Linked DNA regions of Homo sapiens: region 1 is linked to region 2. Evidence: promoter capture Hi-C in human tissues and cell types (Jung and others, 2019). All regions are on one chromosome and are shown on one strand. Each heading gives the region's core, a stretch centred on a gene start or on the middle of the fragment in contact. The rest is flanking DNA. Distances are from core to core; before and after follow the strand shown. Region 1 overlaps SPNS2-AS1 (SPNS2 antisense RNA 1). Region 2 holds the start of ALOX15 (arachidonate 15-lipoxygenase).

Region 1 (5,076 bases), core at 708-3,207, 150 kb after region 2:
TGTTTCACTGGGGTTTCAACTCAAAGGCAGCCTCTAGAATAAGTCCTTGTGTGGGATAAGGGGCCACCAAGGGCAGAGGGACAGGGAGGACAAGAAGCCCTTTCTGGTTGTGCAGCCCAGGACAAATCCCTACAGCCTTCTGAGAAGCTCTGGCAGTAACCTGGGGCTGTCAGACAGAGGACTGGTAGGGTTCTTTCCTCCATCTCGCCAATGAAGAAACTGAGGCCCAGGGAAAAGAAGTAATTTGCCCAAGGTCGAACACCTGGTAAATGACAGTGCATGGACTAAACCCAGGTGTGTTTACCCTCTAATCCAGCACTTCCTCCACTGCACGCTGCCCTCAGACTGGGCGGGATTCTGTTTCTTCATCAGTATAACAGGAGGCTGAACTCCGTGGCTAAAGGACCTTCTGATATTCATTCATTAGGTCTAGATCACAGCTTCAAAACAAATGGGGGCCGGCGTGGTGGCTCATACCTGTAATGCCAGCACTTTGGGAGGCCGAGGTGGGTGGATCACCTGAGGTCAGGAGTTCGAGACCAGCCTGGCCAACATGGTGAAACCCGGTCTCTACTAAAAATACAAAAATTAGCCAGGCGTGGTGGGGCGCGCCTGTAATCCCAGCTACTTAGGAGGCTGAGGCAGGAGAATTGCTTGAACTTGGGAGGCAGAGGTTGCAGTGAGCCAAGATCATGCCACTGCACTCCAGCCTCGGTGACAGAGTGAGACTCCATCTCAAAAACAAAAACAAAAACAAAAAACAAAAGTGGGGGGAAAAAAAGAAAAGAACACACACAAAAAAGAAAAAAATGGGGCACAGAACATTAATGGCCATTATTCAAAGAGCAGTCATACTTGGGAAGTAGTGGGATAAACACAGAAAAGTAGGTTTCCTTAGGGACTTTTGAGAGCCTTTACTATGAGAATACATGCTCTGAGTCTCCCAGAGGGAGATATAGGATGCCACGTTCCCAGGTGTGTGTGACCACAGAATGTCTTGCAAGACGAGAGCTCTGCAGGACACACTCTGAGAAACACTGGCCTAGAATGCACTTGCTCCTCCTTGGCTGGTAATTGGGAGCTCAGCCCATCTGCCCTCTGCCCATCCTCCCACATGGGAGTGTCTCCAGGGCTCAGGCCTCGGTTGTTTCCCTTCCCCCTTGGCAGCCTCTCACCTAGGCCTGAAATTTACTTTTTTTGAAAAAATTTTTAAGAGGCAGGGTCTCTCTCTGTCACCCAGGCTGGAACGCAGTGGTGCAATCATAGCTCATCATAACTTTGACCTCTTGGGCTCAAGGGATCCTCCTTAAGAAGGGGCTTCCTGATGCTGGGCGCGGTGGCTCATGCCTGTAATCCCAGCACTTTGGGAGGCCAAGGCGAGCAGATCACTTGAGGTCAGGAATTCAAGATCAGCCTAGCCAACATGGAGAAACCCCATCTCTAGTGAAAACACAAAAATTAGCTGGGTGTGGTGGCATGCGCCTGTCATCCCAGCTACTTGGGAGGAGAATTGCTTGAACCCAGGAGGCGGAGGTTGTAGTGAGCCGAGATCACACCACTGCACTCCAGCGTGGGTGACAGAGTGAGACTCTGTCTCAAAACAACAACAACAACAAAAAACAAAAAAACAAAAAACAAAAAAAAGAGAGCCAAGACAGACAGGAGCAAAGACAGAGAAACGGAGACTTTCATATTCCAGCCTGGGTGACAGAGCAAGACTCCATCTCAGGAAGAAAAAAATAATAATAAAAAATAAAAATATATATATAAAAAAGAAGAGTCTTCCTCTCCTGAGGATCCACACCTCAGCTTCCCAAAAGGCTGGGACTATAAGCGTGCACCACCACACCCAGCAATTTTTTTTTTAGGAAAAAGGTCTCACTATGTTGACCAGGCTGGTCTCAAACTCTAGGGCTCAAGTGATCCTCCCACCTCAGCCTACCAAAATGCTGGGGTTAGAGGGGTGAGCACCATGTGCAGCTGTGGCCTCAACTTTCAATGATCATCCATGTGACTATGACACCCCAACCTCCATCTCTAGACAGGGCCTCATCTCCAAACACGAGATCCATATGCAGCCTCCTACACGTGCCCCCCACCAGATATCCCACATGTACCTTAGGCTCAGCACATTTGAAACTGAACTTGTCATCCTTCCCCCAACCTGCTCCCACTCTGGTATCATTTATCTTTTGTCAAAAACACCATCATCCACACTGTCGCCAAGCAGAAAGCCTGGGAGCCATGTGGGGCTCCTTCTCCTCAACAGCCACATCTAAGGGCTTTCAATTTCCTCTCTTGAACATCTCCCCACGTCCACATTGCCCACTGGCTTAGCTCAGGCCTCTCTGTGTCTTACCTGGACCCTTGTAAAGCTCAACATTACCTGTTCCCACATCCCCCTCCAGTTTTGTTTGTTTGTTTTTTGAGACGGAGTCCTGCTCTGTCACCCAGGCTGGAGTGCAATGGCACAATCTCGGCTCACTGCAACCTCTGCCTCCTGGGTTCAAGCAATTCTCCTGCCTCAGCCTCCTGAGTAGCTGGGATTACAGGTGTGCACCACCATGCCCGGCTAATTTTTTTTATTTTTAGTAGAGACGGGGTTTCATCATGTTGGCCAGGCTGGTCTCGAACTCCTGGCCTCAAGTGATCCACCCACCTTGGCATCCCAAAGTGCTGGGATTACAGGCGTGAGCCACTGTGCTCGGCCGGCCCTCCAGTCGTTTCTCCATATTGCTTATCAGTCACTTTCTGAATCCCACAAAGGACCTCATCACTACCTTGAGCAAAACCTTTCTAAGGCTCTTCACTGGCTATAGGGTTAAAAATGTCTACGTTCCTGGCCGGGCGCAGTGACTCACGCCTGTAATCCCAGCACTTCGGGAAGCCGAGGCGGGCGGATCACGAGGTCAGGAGATCGAGACAATCCTGGCTAACATGGTGAAACCCTGTCTCTACTAAAAAATACAAAAAATTAGCTGGGCGTGGTGGTGGGCGCCTGTTGTCCCATCTACTCGGGAGGCTGAGGCAGGAGAATGGCGTGAACCCAGGAGGCGGAGCTTGCAGTGAGCCGAGATCGCGCCACTGCACTCCAGTCTGGGTGACAGAGCGAGACTCTGTTTCAAAAAAAAAAACTACATTCCTTAATGATCTCCAAGAGCCTTCACAACTTTTCACAACCCATGACAATCTCCAGCCTCAGATCCTACGGCCCATCTCTCAAAATTACCCTCTGCCACACTGAACATGGAGCTTCTTGAACTCACAGTTATAATACTTCCTGGAGCCTGGGGGAGGGGCAAGAATTGGGGCACTATTCTATAGCCCCTGTCCTCCTATCAACAAAAAAGCCCTTGTCCCACTAGCACAGCGATGATTCAGGACCATGGAGAGCATCCCGCGTGCAACCCCTGACCCCGACCCTGACTGAGGCATGCTCTGCCTGTGTGGCCTATTCACTCTTCCCACTTGTCCTTCAGGAACCCAGCACAGAAACAGCTTCCTCCGGGAAGCCTTCCCCGGCCCACCTGAACAACCATTTCCTCCTCTGGGCTATTGAGTAACCTGTGTATCCTTCCATCACACCAACACTGTGCTGATTTTTGTCTGTGCAAGAATCTGTCCCCCGCCCTTCACCAACAGACCGTGAGCCTCGAGGGCCCGTACCCTTTCTGATTCATCTCCACGAGCCAGTACAGAGGAGGTGCTCAAAGAATGTTTGTTGATTGAATGAGTAAATGACATTTAGCAGGTGCTCAGGAAATGTACATTGATTTGCATCACGCGTCTGTTGCTCTGAATGACTCAGAAACCAGATTCGTCTCCTGGTTCCTCTGGAAAAGGCATTTTCTTCCTGATTGACTCCACCCTCCATTAGCTTCCACCTGCTGTTTGCCTCCACCCTTTGATTAGCCTTCCCCGCAGGTCACCACCCACGGTGGGGAGAAGGCACCTCCTCTCTGCTCTTGCTGTTGCCAAGCTGAGGACTGGTTGGGGCCCCCGTTCCCTCCCCCAGCCCGAGCCTATCTTTGCTCAGAACGCTTCGTCTCTGCCTCTCTCTCCTGCTCAGAACAGATGGCTCTGAGTCCCCACTAACACAGAAGTTCCTGTTCTGCCATTTGAACATTTTTAACACTTTCTACATTACAGAAGCTTCAGTCTCTTTTCATCATGGATGCAGACTATCAGAAATAAAGACTCCACCGAAGGGCATCGAGTCCAGCCTCTTCCCCATCCCATGGAGAGGCTGCACCTCAGAGATGGCCAGTGGCCTGCCCGAGATATTGTAGTGGATGCTACCTTTGTTTTTGTTTTCTGTCATCTTGTTTTCTTTCTTCTTCTTTTTTTTTTTTTTTCCAAGAAGGAGTTTCACTCTTGTTGCCCGGGCTGGAGCACGATTTCAGCTCACTGCAACCTCCGCCTCCTGAGTTCAAGCGATTCTCCTGCTTCACCCTCCTGAGTAGCTGGGATTACAGGTGCGCACCACCAAGCCCAGCTAATTTTTGTATTTTTAATAGAGACGGGGTTTCTCCATGTTGGCCAGGCTGGTCTTGAACTCCTGACCTCAGGTGATCCACCTACCTTGGCATCCCAAAGTGCTGGGATTACAGGCATGAACCACCGCGCCCAGCCTGTCATCTTGTTTTAATTCCTGTTTTGTTTTGGTGCTGAGACTTCCTTCCTCTTCCTAACGGCACACTGGTCTGCTGGTCTTAATGCGGCTATAAACCAAGGCATGGGTATAGGATCCAAGCTAACCCAACTGGAATCTCTTGCCCAGGGCTTTAAATCTTGAGGAGGGTGGCAAAAGAATAGGGATAAAATATCTGGAGTTCTGGCACAGACCCCAAAATAATATGGCCCAGGAACCCTGGCTCCTGAATCTCCAACCTTCTCATCAATTCTATGAGTTCCTGATGTGCTTTCAATGCATCCTTTGCCTGGTAGAGGTAGTCAGTCTGTTTCCGTTGCATACAACCCCACAACCCAAACTGATATGGTCACACAGGAGCACACGCAGTCACACACCTGTCTGTGCTGAGATAAAGCATGGCTCCCGGAACCTCCAGCTGCCTG
Region 2 (4,537 bases), core at 702-3,201:
GAGTTCAAGACCAGCCTGGCCAACATGGTGAAACCCCATCTCGACTGAAAATACAAAAAGTAGCCGGGCATGTTGGTGGGTGCCTGTAATCCCAGCTACTCTGGAGGCTGAGGCAGGAGAATCGCTTGAACCCGGCAGGTGGAGGTTGCAGTGAGCCGAGATCACACCACTGTACTCTAGCCCGGGCAACAGAGCAAGACTCCATCTCATTAAAAAAAAAAACACCAAAAACAAAAAACAAGCAAACCAGAAAATATGCATCACAGACATATTTTCGTGGACTTCATTTGTGTTACCAGGCTGATTGTAATCCATGCCATGAAGTTTATGTTAGTATTCCCCTTTTGTTTACATTGCCTGATAATTTGTTTCCCTTTGTCTCCCCCAAGGGAAGCATTCATTTATAATGAATTTTTCAGCTCAGTGTGTTTCAGCAAACACTTATTGACACCCACAAACCCTGACACTGTGCCGTCTCCAGGGGAAACAAAAGTGAGAGTCCTGCTGGGTGTGTAGTCCCTGCCTAGGACGGGCTCACATTAGTGGGGGATACACACATACAAATGCTCACACTGCAGTATTAACTGTGCAACAGTAGAAGTGTGCGCAAGGAGAAAAGTGTTAGAAAGGAAAGCTGGGCCGGGCGCCGTGGCTCACACCTGTAATTCCAGCACTTTGGGAGACTGAGGTGGGTGGATCACAAGGTCAGGAGTTCAAGACCAGCGTGGCCAACATGGAGAAACCCCGTCTCTACTAAAAATACAAAAATTATCCAGGCATGGTGGCAGGCGCCTGTAATCCCAGCTACTCGGAAGGCTGAGGCAGAGAATTGCTTGAGCCCGGGAGGCAGAGGTTGCCGTGAGCCGAGATCGTGCCATTGCACTCCACCCTGCATTCCAGGGTGACAGAGTGAGACTCTATATCTCAAAAAAAAAAAAAAAAGGAAAGCTAATTCACTCTGGTGGGGTGGTGGGGGGTGAAAGTACCGGGTAAGACTTTCCTGAGAAACCGGAGGTGAACTAGGGTTTAGAAGCATGAATAGATGAATAGACTAATCCAGGAGCAAGTTCTTTTGAGAGAACAGCAGGTGGGGTTCTGGGGAACACATGGCTCCAGCCCAAAAAGAAACTGGAGACGAATTAGGGTTTAGAAGCATGACCAGACTAACCCAGAAGTGAGTTCTTTGAGAGAACAGCAGGGGCGGCGGGGGGAGGGGGGGTTCCGGGGAACACATGGCTCCAGCACAGGAGATGCCAGGGTGCAGTGGGATGAGAGGTGAGGAGAGCAGGTCAGGTTAGCAAGGGCATTGAATGCCAGAAACATTTGGACTTTTATTCTGCAGGCAACAGGGAGGCAGCGGCTTTTATGCTCAAAAGGAATGAGTCCCAGTGGCTGGCACAGAGAAGGCAAGTGTGCAAAGCTGGTCGAATGAATTCCGTGGCCTGAATGTACCTTCCTCAAATGCCACTGCAAACTGGGTCTCCTCGCCCACTTCACCCTCTCCTGCAATCCAACTTGTGAGGCTTGTGTGTGCGCGCGCGTGTCCTTGCGTGTGTGTGTGTGTGCACGCGTGCGTTTAGATGGAGGTTGGCTTCCCAGCCACCCAGGCTTGGCCCAAAGTCCGTGGTACACACGTGCATAACTCCTACCCCCACCTCGCCTGCCTGCTGTACCAGGCGTTGATTCCCTCTTCCTGCGTGTTTTCGGTCCAAATCCTTTTCTTTTTCTCCCTCCCGTCAAGATAGTGGTTTCCACTCCCTGCTCTCGCCAGGACACCGCCTTTTGGACTGGGGCTGAATTCTGCCCCTTGAAGCTCTGCTCCTTGGAGCTGGGGGCCCCAGCGGTAGGCGGAGTTGATTGGAGACCTGCCACCCACATTCCGACCCCAAGCGACCTCCGAGAGGGCGGGGTCTCAGGCTGGGTTATTTAGCTCGTCCACCCTTCTCCACCAGAAGGAGCGAAACATCTTTGAGCAAGATGGGTCTCTACCGCATCCGCGTGTCCACTGGGGCCTCGCTCTATGCCGGTTCCAACAACCAGGTGCAGCTGTGGCTGGTCGGCCAGCACGGGGAGGCGGCGCTCGGGAAGCGACTGTGGCCCGCACGGGGCAAGGTGAGCTCCCCAGAGCCGGGCGGGGTGGGCTGCGCCCCTGGCTCCGAGTCAGTCAAATACCGGGGAGGACATGCGCCCCCGTTGGCCTCTGGCCGATTCTCTTTGCCAAGGGCCCGCGCATTGGGCTCAAAGCGCGCGGAGGCCACGGGGGTGGGGGGCTTTAGGGCAGTCGGTGGCACACAGTAAGCGCTCAATAAATGTTGCCGCTACCCGATCTCCTTGGAATTGAGGGCATGCTCCTGTGCGCCCCTCATTGCACAAAGCTCCCTTGTCTGGAAACTCAGCAGTCACTGGAGCCGCCGTCGGTCCTCTCGCTTTCTCTATTTTAAAAACCGTTTCAACCGCTAGCGCTGTTGGATCTCTACCTTTCAGGCTTTATCACCTGGGGTGGAGTGGGTGGTGAGAGGGAAGGGATGGGGAGTCAAGACAGGAGAACGCTCTCGATTTCCCGACCCACCTCCCGTCATATCTCATGTCACATCTACCGGGTGTTCTACCCGGTCCTGTTAACTTTTTTTCTTCCGCGAAAGCCCAAATTCCCATCACTGCTCTAGCTCTCTCCCAGATCCCCAAATCCGGATGTCTGTCTCAGGGAACGTCAAAGCAACATGCCCGGATGAGGTCCTCCCCTCTCCCCACCTCCCAGCCCTCTCCTCCTGCCTCCCCCGGTGTCACCCGCGCCTCCTTCCTCTCTTCACCTCCCTCTAAACAAGAATCCGGCGCAGTCAGTTCTAGACCCTGAGCATCTCCCGCGTCCCTGCCCAATATCCGTCCCGCCCCCGACCGCCCGCGTCCTCTTGAACCTGCGGAGCCCTGCTCCCCGCACTCCACGCCCTTGCTCCGAGCTTCCGAGAAAGCGGGGCAAAGGGAGCCAGGAAGAGAGAAAATGCGCACGGAGCAGGTGGCCCCGCGACTCCATGGTGAGGGGACGGGGCACGGAAGGTGGAAAGGCGCGCTCCCTCCTCCCTTTTTTCCTCCCTATGGTGGGCAGTTGGTGACACACAGTAAAGGCTCAATAAATGTTCCCGCTACTCGATCTCCTTGGAATTAAGGGGATGCTCCTGAGCGCCCCTCATTCCACACAGCTCTGGTGCCTGGAAACTGCGGTCGCCGGAGCGGTCGTCGGTCCTCCCGGTTTCTCTATTTTAAAAGCCATTTCAAACCTCCAGCGGCCTCGCCACCTCTGCTGCAGACCTTCCAAGCCCTTCTGAAGCCGGAATGATTTCTCCCTAATTCACTCCCCCTGCTTAACACATTCGAACGGCTCCCGCTTGTTCTCGGGACCAAATCCAAAGCCCCTGGCGCCACCTTCGAGAGCCTCCGGACCTGCTGACCCCCCACACCTGGGCTCTGAGCTCCAGCTCCAAGATGCTGCTCGCCCTCCCTTCCCCGCCGCTCTCTTTCTGCGCGCCTTTCCCCTGCCTTCCCTTTCTGTCACTCTCCCTGGCTGAGCCCTCTCCGCCTCCAGGTCTCCGGGAAGGTTGTCCCCAGGCCGGTGGGGCCCCTGCAGGTCCTCAGCCTCGGGCGGGGTGGGGTGGGGGGTCGCACAGCGGGAATTGCCACCAGCGCGTCCGGGCTCCACAGCGCGCTCGTCCAGGGCGCGGCAGCGCTCAGCCCAGCGCTTGGCACAGTCAGTGACCACAGGGAGGAGAAAGTGAAGGCAGGAGCGCACCTTCCCACCTGCCGTCCCCGTCCCCTCAGAACCGAGTCCTGGGGCCACCTGCTCGGCGCGGTCCCTCTCTCTCTGGCTCAGTCCCCGCACCCCGATACGTCTCCTCCTCTCAGAGGCTCCGAGGAAGGGCGTGGGCGCTGGAGGGAGCAGGGCTCAGCCGGGTGCCCCTCCCGCCAGGCCCCACCGGGGCTGAGCCTCTTCTGTCGCCCGCAGGAGACAGAACTCAAGGTGGAAGTACCGGAGTATCTGGGGCCGCTGCTGTTTGTGAAACTGCGCAAACGGCACCTCCTTAAGGACGACGCCTGGTTCTGCAACTGGATCTCTGTGCAGGGCCCCGGAGCCGGGGACGAGGTCAGGTTCCCTTGTTACCGCTGGGTGGAGGGCAACGGCGTCCTGAGCCTGCCTGAAGGCACCGGTAAGCGCGGGGCTGAGGGTGTCAGGAGGCCTCTGGGCTGTGTGAGAAGCTGGGGGGATGCGCGTGTGGAGAAGAGGGCGCAGGATGGGGGTGCTGGAACCTGGAGCGCCGGGGTCTTTGGGGGTGTCGAAGGGGCGGTGGCTGCAGCTGGCACAAAGTGGCTGGAGCCTGGGGGAGGGGCGTGATGCTGAAGGGGCAGAGGCCACACAGAAGGACGGGGTGCTGAGGCTCTCCTGGCAGAGACAAGAAGAGGCGCTCACCAAAAGTCACTGGCCAAGTCCTCCTCTGTCCTTCTAGGCCGCACTGTGGGCGAGGACCCTCAGGGCCTGTTCCAGAAA

The links. Contacts are between HindIII fragments. The study calls those that stand out against the background at their distance.
Region 1: a contact is called between a fragment that was not itself captured here and the fragment with the promoter of ALOX15 in region 2, in 2 of the 25 tissues and cell types used here (IMR-90 fibroblasts and mesendoderm cells).

The regions. Positions count from the first base shown.
Region 1 is chr17:4,491,765-4,496,840 of GRCh38, reverse strand. The region is part of intron 2 of SPNS2-AS1 (SPNS2 antisense RNA 1); the gene reads left to right. Among named protein-coding and RNA genes, the nearest start is that of SPNS2-AS1, 4.4 kb to the left of the region's middle. The HindIII fragment of the contact is 5,950 bases long and covers 1-4,932 here.
Region 2 is chr17:4,639,092-4,643,628 of GRCh38, reverse strand. ALOX15 (arachidonate 15-lipoxygenase) reads left to right here and starts at 1,951. Exons shown (of 14, transcript NM_001140.5): 1 at 1,951-2,112; 2 at 3,998-4,199; 3 at 4,497-4,537. The coding sequence starts at 1,978. RefSeq lists an enhancer at 4,508-4,537. The HindIII fragment of the contact is 22,491 bases long and covers 1-4,537 here.